2 separate regions of the Homo sapiens genome follow, and region 2 is linked to region 1. Evidence: promoter capture Hi-C in human tissues and cell types (Jung and others, 2019). All regions are on one chromosome and are shown on one strand. Each heading gives the region's core, a stretch centred on a gene start or on the middle of the fragment in contact. The rest is flanking DNA. Distances are from core to core; before and after follow the strand shown.

Region 1 (4,335 bases), core at 1,149-3,648:
ATTAAATAGCAACTTCTATGAGCAACAGGACAATATTATGTCCCTGGCATTTGGACTTAGACAAAAACCTTTGTGGAATCATAGCCTGTCCAGGTATGTGCTGTGTGACCCTGAGCAGGTGATATCATCTCTCTGAGACCCTGTTTCCTAGTATGTTGGGTATTGAAAACTTATGTCACAGGGGCCTGTGGGGGTTACAGGAGCCAATCTGTGCAAAGAGCTCAGCAGGTGCTGAGTGCTCAGCAAGTTACAGCTACTGGAGTTAAAATCACTACCACAGTGGAGAAGAGCCCTGGCAAAGGCTGCAGTCTCCATTCTACCCACTGGGAAATCCGAACGGCTGACCAGCTCCCCTGTCTTTCCCAAACTAGGATCCCAGGAATTAGAAATGGTGGTGCTTAGGTGGGTGCACAGCAGCATCTAGTGGACTAGAAGGAGAACTGAAGAAGTGTCACAATGACATCGGGAAGAGAAAGTTTTAAGGCTGGGGAAAAGGTTGGCAGAGAAGTCAGGAAGGAGGCCTGCATGTGCCGGGTGTCCCCTGTGGGGAGATCAGATGAGGTACCTTAACAGTTATCTGGACCTCAAGCCCCCATGTGCTAGCTGAGGGCGTCCTTCTCCCTCCCCAGGCCTCCCTGGGTGCTGGGTCTCTGGGTCCTATGGGCTCAGGGGCCCATCTTTTTCAAGTTCTGCTCCACGTGTCTGTGTCCAGCTGAGGGCACTGACCCCACTGCCCCAGTCCCCAGGGCTTAGATGCCAGGACAGTAGAAAGCTGTGTGCCAGGGCATAACCAAGGTGTCCTCCACTGCTCTGGGCCACACATTGGCAGCTGGGCCCTGTGTCCCTCTGACACCGGATCCTAGGGTTTCTGGCTCTGCCATCTCTGCTGTGATGCTCCATTCCAACCATGTGGCTCAGCAGGGAGGGCATTACACACTGTCCCTTCCCCCTTTTCCATACTCCTGCCTTCCTGCATGCCCTGCACAGGAACCCTCTTCCCTTCTCCTTTTGCCAAAAGAATTCAGAAGATACCAACTTTCTCCTCTTTTCCTGTCTGCAGTGGAGGTCCCGGCAGGACCCCCTCCTGAGCTGTGAGGGTTAAATGGGAGAAGGTGTATTGAGCTTGAAGCACTGGCAGGTCCCACAACGAATGCTCAAAAAATGGAAGCCTCTGCCACCATCTGCATCATCCCCATCAACCACAGGAGCAAAGAGCCCGCCTTTTCTGAGAAGAGCATTTACATATTGATAGAAATTCCGCGGTTTTATTTATCATCACGTCAGTTTTAAGGATGTAAGTAGGTACACATATACATATGTATCTAAAATATATTAAGTTTTTAAAAGTAGGTTATTAAAGGATATGTACAAGACACTCTAGATTTTTTTTTTTTTTTTTTTTTTTTGAGATGGGAGTCTCACTCACTCTGTTGCCCAGGCTGGAGTACAGTGGTGCGATCTTGGCTCACTGCAACCTCCGCCTCCCAGGTTCAAGCAATCCTCCTGCCTCAGCCTCCCAAGTAGCTGGGACTACAGGCACCCGCCACTGCGCCCAGTTAATTTTGGTATTTTTCGTAGAGACGGGGTTTCACCATCTTGGCCAGGCTGGTCTTGAACTCCTGACCTCATGGTCCAGCCGCCTCAGCCTCCCAAAGTGCTGGGATTACAGGCATGAGCCACTGTGGCTGACCAAGATGCTCTAGATTTTTAAAATAAATATACATACTCCACATGCTCAAATATAAGCTGAATCTGTAACCCAGCAGCTTAGCAGCCTAACCTCAAACCGCATTTTAAAACTTTTTTTCCTTTCCCCTTTCCTCTCTTCTGCTAATCTGAAGATGTAACTTAGACAAAGTATAGACGTGTTTCCTCTCCTCTTGAAATCCAGCCTTGGAATGTGCTGTGAACCTCCACCCCCTTTCTTTTCCTGTTCTATGCCCCCATGCCTTATGCACATTTATTTACCTAGTTGTTTGGTAAGCACACACCATACTCACTTATCTGGTCACATATTTCCTTAGAAGCTTCAGTAGTCAGATCCTGATACGAACCATGCACCTCCTCCAGCCATGATGACGCCGGCCACTTCCACAGATGGAAAAATAATTCAGGACAAGCCACTGGAGGGGGTCACACCACCTGACACCTCCCAGTCCCCCTGCCTCTTTTGCCTTCCAAATCCTCCCTTTAAAAACCGCTTTGGCCGGGCGCGGTGGCTCACGCCTGTAATCCCAGCACTTTGGCAGGCTGAGGCGGGTAGATCATGAGGTCAGGAGATGGAGACCATCCTGGCTAACACAGTGAAACCCTATCTCTACTAAAAATACAAAAAATTAGCCGGGCGTGGTGGCGGGCACCTGTAGTCCCAGCTACTCGGGAGGCTGAGGCAGCAAAATGGCGTGAACCCGGGAGGCGGAGCTTGCAGTGAGCCGAGATCACGCCACTGCACTCCAGCCCGGGTGAAAGAGTGAGACTCTGTCTCAAAAAATAAACAAATAAATAAATATCTTAAAAAATAAAATAAAATAAATAAAAACCCCTGCGTTCATCCGAGCGCAGTGGCTCACGTCTGTAATCGCAGCACTTTGGGAGGTCAAGGCCGGAGGATCACGAGGTCAGGAGATGGAGACCATCCTGACTAACGCGGGGAAACCCCGTCTCTACTAAAAATACAAAAAATCAGCTGGGCATGGTGGCATGTGCCTGTAGTCCCAGCAACTCGGGAGGCTGAGGCAGGAGAATCGCTTGAACTCAGAAGGCGGAGGTTGCAGTGAGCTGAGATTGCGCCACTGCACTCCAGCCAGATTGGGCGACAGAGCAAGACACCGTCGCAAAAAACAAACAAAAAAAACCCCTGCGTTCTTTCCTCACGTGGAAGAGTGGAATTGCTCTCTGCTCTTGCCCTTGCTAGCATAGATTATAAAATTCTTTCTTTTTAAATCACATGTCATTATCATTTTGACTTCTTTCTACAAGCAGTGAGCAGCTGGGCCCTTTTGCTGGTTACAACATGAGTGACTGGGGCAAATACATCAATCAAGGTTTATCAAGCCAGATTTAGGTTGTTTCTGGGAAAAACACGAGCCAAACATGCACCTGTGGCTATTTTTCTGAAAAGGTTTTTCAGGAGATTTCCTATTTTTTTTAAGAAACTTTATTTTATTTTATTTTATTTATATCTCTATGTATTTATTGAGATGGAGTCTCGTTCTGTCGTCCAGGCTAGAGTGCAGTGATGTGATCTCTGCTCACTGCAGCCTTCGCCTCCCGGGTTCAGGCGATTCTCCTGACTCAGCCTCCTGAGTAGCTGGGATTACAGGTGCATGCCACCACACCAGGCTAATTTTTGTATTTTCAGTAGAGACGGGGTTTCATGATATTGGCCAGGCTGATCTCAAACTTCTGACCTCAAGTGATCCACCCACCTTGGGATTACAGGCGTGAGCCACCATGCCCAGTCGGGGATCAGAGTTTTTAAAAATGATTTGGTGGGTATGGGCTCAGGAAGTAGGGAGTGCTTATTGGTCGGGTTGGAGATGGAATCATGGGGGTGGAAGTGAGTTCTTGCTGATTTCTCTTCCTGGATGAGATCGCAGGACTGGTTGAGCCAGATTATCAGTCTGGGTGGTGTCATCTGCTGCATCGGAATTCAGGGTATGCAAAATATCTCAAGCACTGATCTTAAGTTTTGCAACGGAGATTTTATTCCCAGAAGCAACTTGGGGAGGTTCAGACTCTTGCGGCCAGAAGCTGCATGGCCCCTAAGCCGTAATCTCTCATCTTGTAGCTAATTTGTTAGTCCTACAAAGGCAGGACAGTTCCCCACGCAAGAAGCGTCTTTTTTTCAGGAAAGGACTATTATCAGTTTTGTTTCAGAATTTAAACTATAAACAATTCTTCCCCAAGACTAGTTTGGCCTATGCCCAGGAATGAACAAAGACAGCTTAGGCGTTAGAAGCAAGGTGTGGTCGGTTAGGTCTGATCTGTTTCACTGTCATAATTTTCTCAGTTATGAGTTTTGCAAAGGCCCTTTCAATGGGGTGACTATAGTAAGTTAATTTTCCTCCTCTTTCTTCTGGTTTACCCAAGGGCATGTGGAGTCATAGAACTGTCCAGCAGGCACTGAAAGTAAAAAGTCTGTGATAAACCACCTAAATTTCTAGCTAGGCTAGTGGGAAAGGGGTCTCCTGCACATCAAGGAGTAAGGGGATCATCCTTGGTTTGTTTTGTTTTTATCTCCCCAGTTGCAAAGCTGTCCTGCAGCCTCAGCAATGGCAGAGGGACCTAAAGCCCTGAGAAATCACTTGGCTCACTGGGCAGAGGAAAAGGAAA
Region 2 (4,335 bases), core at 1,046-3,545, 370 kb before region 1:
ACCACTCTGCTTTTCCAGTGATCTACAGAGACATGGCTTTCAAATCAGTATAAAGAATTTCCAAGGACTTATAATGGAGGAGGAGTCAGCCTTGAAGCTTCTTCCTGTAACCACAAGGTTCTAGCATAAACTAAAGAGGCCTTTCTCAGAGAAGGCTTCTGAACAGTGTTTCTGTGTAAGTCATGGCTGGTGACACCACTCAGATTCCACCACATTCATCTCTCTGAGCCTGAAGACACAATTGGTGACATTTGTCCTGAGGGTAAATTAAAGAAGGCCCCCCTGGATGTTTTGGAAGGCCTAATTAGTTTCTCCTCAAACAATCCAGTTCCCCTAAAGAGGCCAGGAAAGCTTTTGGGGGTTAGGATGAGGACACGATTCTGCACCGTTACCTCCCTTCCTCCCTCACCCAGTCCCTTCCTCAGAGCATGCACCAGGGCAGATCTTGCTTGAGGATTTCCACGAGGGTCTTTTTCAGTTGAGATTGCATTTTAGTGAGTAATATCCCCTGCCAAAGCTAAACTAAATCTGTGGGAAAAGACAGTAATCATTCCTAAGCTGCTAATAAAACTGCTCACAACATGCTCAGAGTTCATCAGTTAGCTGTGACCCAGCCAGTGGCTCTTGCCTGACACCCATCTCTGCCTGGTGGCAGTTTCCTGAGTTATCAGAAAGCAGACATCATGATTCCTGTGTGCTTCTCCATGAAACGTCTCCCTCTGGAGGGGTTTATGGGGACATTAATCCCTAGCTCTTAGGGTGACATTGGCTGACCAATTATTTTATTCTGAACTGTCCCCTCAAAATAGGTTCATTTGACTAAAAAAAGTTAAAGCGCCGGGCATGGTGGCTCACGCCTGTAATCCCAGCACTTTGGGAGGCCGAGGCGGGTGGATCACGAGGTCAGGAGATCGAGACCATCCTGGCTAACATGGTGAAACTCCATCTTTACTAAAAATACAAAAAATTAGCTGGGCGTGGTGGCGGGCGCTTGTAGTCCCAGCTGCTCAGGAGGCTGAGGCAGGAGAATGGTGTGAACCTGGGAGGCGGAGCTTGTGGTGAGCTGAGATCCGCGCCACTGCACTCCAGCCTGGGCGACAAAGCGAGACTCCATTTCAAAAAAAACAAAAAAAAAAGTTAAAGCATATTAAATCCAAAACATACTATAGATTTTGTTTTTGTGAAGCTTCAATATAGTTGAAGCTATATCTGAGAAGTATGCTTGCTACTTTGAGCATATGGGGCAACGTAGTTGTGGTTAAATATGGCTGCTTCTCCCACAGAATCAGGGATGGCTTCCCTTTCTTGGGAATAGCCATTTACAGAGGATGACATATATCAGGTTCCTTTTGCCATACCAGAGGTACTCAGTTTCAAGCTGACTGATACCCTGCCTCCTACCCTTAGCTGCCTGTTTATTTTTAAGAAATATATCTATTTTTACATTTTTAAAGCAGAGCTGTAATAAATTCTCATAGAATCCATGCTCATGCATCATCTGAGTTTTAATGTAACTTCTCAGTAAACACTCCAGGATAATTTAGTTGTTTATGAGATCCACCTAGTGTATAGAGTTACTGGGCATAAACTGTACTTCAGAACATCTGGCAGCCTCTTTTATTTGAGTAAAACATATGTAACAAAAATTTACCATTTGATCATTTTTAAACATACAATTCGGTAGCATTAAGTGCATTTGCAATGTGTATTCATCACCACTACCTAGTTCCAAAACTAGATCACCCCAAGTGGAAACCACCTACCCATTCATCAGTCAGCTCCTTCTCCTCCCTAGCACTTGGCAACCACTCGTCTACTTTCTGTCTCTGGATTTGACTATGGATATTTCATATAAATAGAATCATACAGTATGTAGCCTTTTGTGTCTAACTTTCACTTACCATAATGTTTCAATACTTACTCATATTGTGGCGTATATTCGTACTTTGTTCCTTTTCATGGCCAAAAAATAATCCATTGTATGGATAGACCATATTTTGTTTATTCATTTGTCAATTGGTGGGCATTTGGGTTGTTTCCACCTTTTGGCTTTTTTGAATAGTGCTGCTGGGAACGTTCCTGTACAGGTATTTGTTTGAACATCTGCTTTCAGTTCTTTGAAGTATAGACAAGGAGTGGGATTGCTGGGCCGTATATTAACTCTGTGTTTAACTTACTGAGGAACTGCCAAACTCTTCCTCAGCAGCGGCATCATTTGCCGTTCCCACCAGCAGTGTCCAAGGATTCCAGTATCTGCATCCTCACCATGTTTTTCTTTTCTTTTAAATAATAGCCATCCTAATGGCTGTGAAGTGTCATCTTCTTGTGGTTTTGATTTGCATTTCCTTAGTGACTAACCGTGTTGAGCCTTCTCATGTGCTTGTTGGCTATTTGTATATCTTTGGGGAAATGTTCTATTTACGTCCTTTGCTCATTTTTATGTTTGGGCAACTGGGTTGTCTTTCTGTTGTTGATCAAGTTCATGTTTGTTTGTTCTTAATGGAAATTTTCAAATATGCACTAAAGTCATGAGAATGGTAAAACAACCCTCCTGTACATAGCCCTAGCGACAAGATATCAGCATAGGGCACTGTCCCCACGCCCACCTGGAGGATTCGGAAGCAAACACCAGCCACTTAATGTCACCACACACTTAGAGCTCACTCCTCCCATTGTGTCATAATCAGTTTGCTTGAATTAAGATCCAAATAGGGTTCTCACATTGTGTTTGGAAGTATGTCTCTTTTAGGTCTCTTTCAGTTCATAAATCTTTTTTTCTTTCAGTTTCTTTTTGAAGGAACGGGATTGATTGTGCATCCTACAGAGTGACCCACAGTTCAGATTCTGTTGGTTCCTTCCCCATCCTGTTGTCCGTGGTGTAAACTGGTAGGCAGAGCTGGAGGGTGGATCTGATTCCAGTTCATGTTTTTGGCAGAAACATCTCAGCTGTGGAGTTCTGTCCATTCGCAGCAGGACTGGCTGCCTCTTTCTGTGATGTCACTGCCTCTGATAACGAGGTCAGTCATTCTGGGTAATTCTGTCACTCCTTCCTTCATTAGGCTTCCTCTTTACAGAGAAACCCCTTTGTCAGCTGTTCAGCTGCCTTGACTATGGTTTGGTCTGGAAAGTTCTATCAGGTGCTTGTTCCTCTCCCTTGATTTTCCAGCACTCAGGTTCACGAGTGGTTTCCAAGCCAGGCTGGGTGTGCCTTTGTAGATATCACCATAAACTCACCGATGTCACATTTTAGATGTACCACCCCATTGTACTTAACACCTAACTTCAGTTTTTCAAATGGTGAGCCTTCCTGTTGGCTGTGGATTCAGATCACCTGGGTACCTTTAAAGAACATTATGCCCTGACTCGTTCACACCACGTGAATGAATGTCTCTGGGGTGGGGCAAGCGTAGGAAAACCCGAAAAATCTTTGCAGTGATTCTAGCGCACAGTGAGGATTGAGGGTCCGTATTAGATCAAGAGCAAAGACATGCAGGGCTTATCTCCAGAGGCTGCCAGCTCCACCTCGGCCGCCTGCCCTACCTCGGCCGCCTGCCCTGCCTCCTTCTTGCTCCCTCTTTACCATGTAAGTACCAACACCTGGGCTCCATGATGAGCCAGGCAAGACTCTCCCTGAAAATGTACTGCTTCCCCTTCCTTCCCCTTCCTTCCCCTTCCTTCCCCTTCCTTCCCCTTCCCTCCCCTTCCCTTCTCTCCCCTCCCCTGACCTGGAGCAGAGATTGGCCCTGCTTCAGGGAGGAGATAAGCACTGTAGTCCCCAGGGCAGCACCCTTAGATCAGCAGCTAGAGGGCCTGGCCAGGTTACCCCACAGGCACCACCGGCCCCAGGCAGGTGCCCATTCATCACTCCCAGGGCATTCTGTGTTTAACAGCCACTACCCAGAGATATCAATCAACAGTCTCGATGGTTTTTTTACTCTCTTTCAGACATTATATCTTCTCCCACCATACTACACAGAAAAGGAACCTCACTCACCTCACTCAGGCTCCCAAACTCTGCCACAGTATAGGGGGGCATCGTGAGCCAGGGTTTTGTTAGTAACTCACTCTTACCTCATGAGGCTGGGCTGTGATCCCCAGCAGGTTTCATTCTGAGTGCACTGGGTTGCAGCTTAACAGTGTGGTGTCCTTGTGAAGCTGGAGGACCAGTGAGGACCACCTCTGCCTGAAGGTGGACCTGGGGACAGCGCTCTGCACGGCTCAGACAGGCATGAGGAAGTGGATGCTTGCATGTGTCAGCAGAGAGATGAATCAGAGCCCTTGGCTTCTTGCCCTGTGTCCATAAAAGTGGCATTTCCTTAAATAGACCAGAACCTT

Evidence for each region. Contacts are between HindIII fragments. The study calls those that stand out against the background at their distance.
Region 2: a contact is called between a fragment that was not itself captured here and the fragment with the promoter of PIWIL3 in region 1, in 2 of the 25 tissues and cell types used here (dorsolateral prefrontal cortex and thymus).

The regions. Positions count from the first base shown.
Region 1 is chr22:24,772,322-24,776,656 of GRCh38, forward strand. It overlaps PIWIL3 (piwi like RNA-mediated gene silencing 3), which reads right to left and starts at 2,399. Exons shown (of 21, transcript NM_001255975.1): 1 at 2,001-2,399. The HindIII fragment of the contact is 9,839 bases long and covers 1-4,335 here.
Region 2 is chr22:24,398,454-24,402,788 of GRCh38, forward strand. The region is part of intron 14 of SPECC1L (sperm antigen with calponin homology and coiled-coil domains 1 like); the gene reads left to right. All of the region lies in intron 15 of SPECC1L-ADORA2A (SPECC1L-ADORA2A readthrough (NMD candidate)), which reads left to right. It overlaps LOC105372960 (a long non-coding RNA gene), which reads right to left and starts at 4,206. Exons shown (of 2, transcript XR_938082.3): 1 at 4,072-4,206. RefSeq lists an enhancer at 2,984-3,043. The HindIII fragment of the contact is 4,142 bases long and covers 225-4,335 here.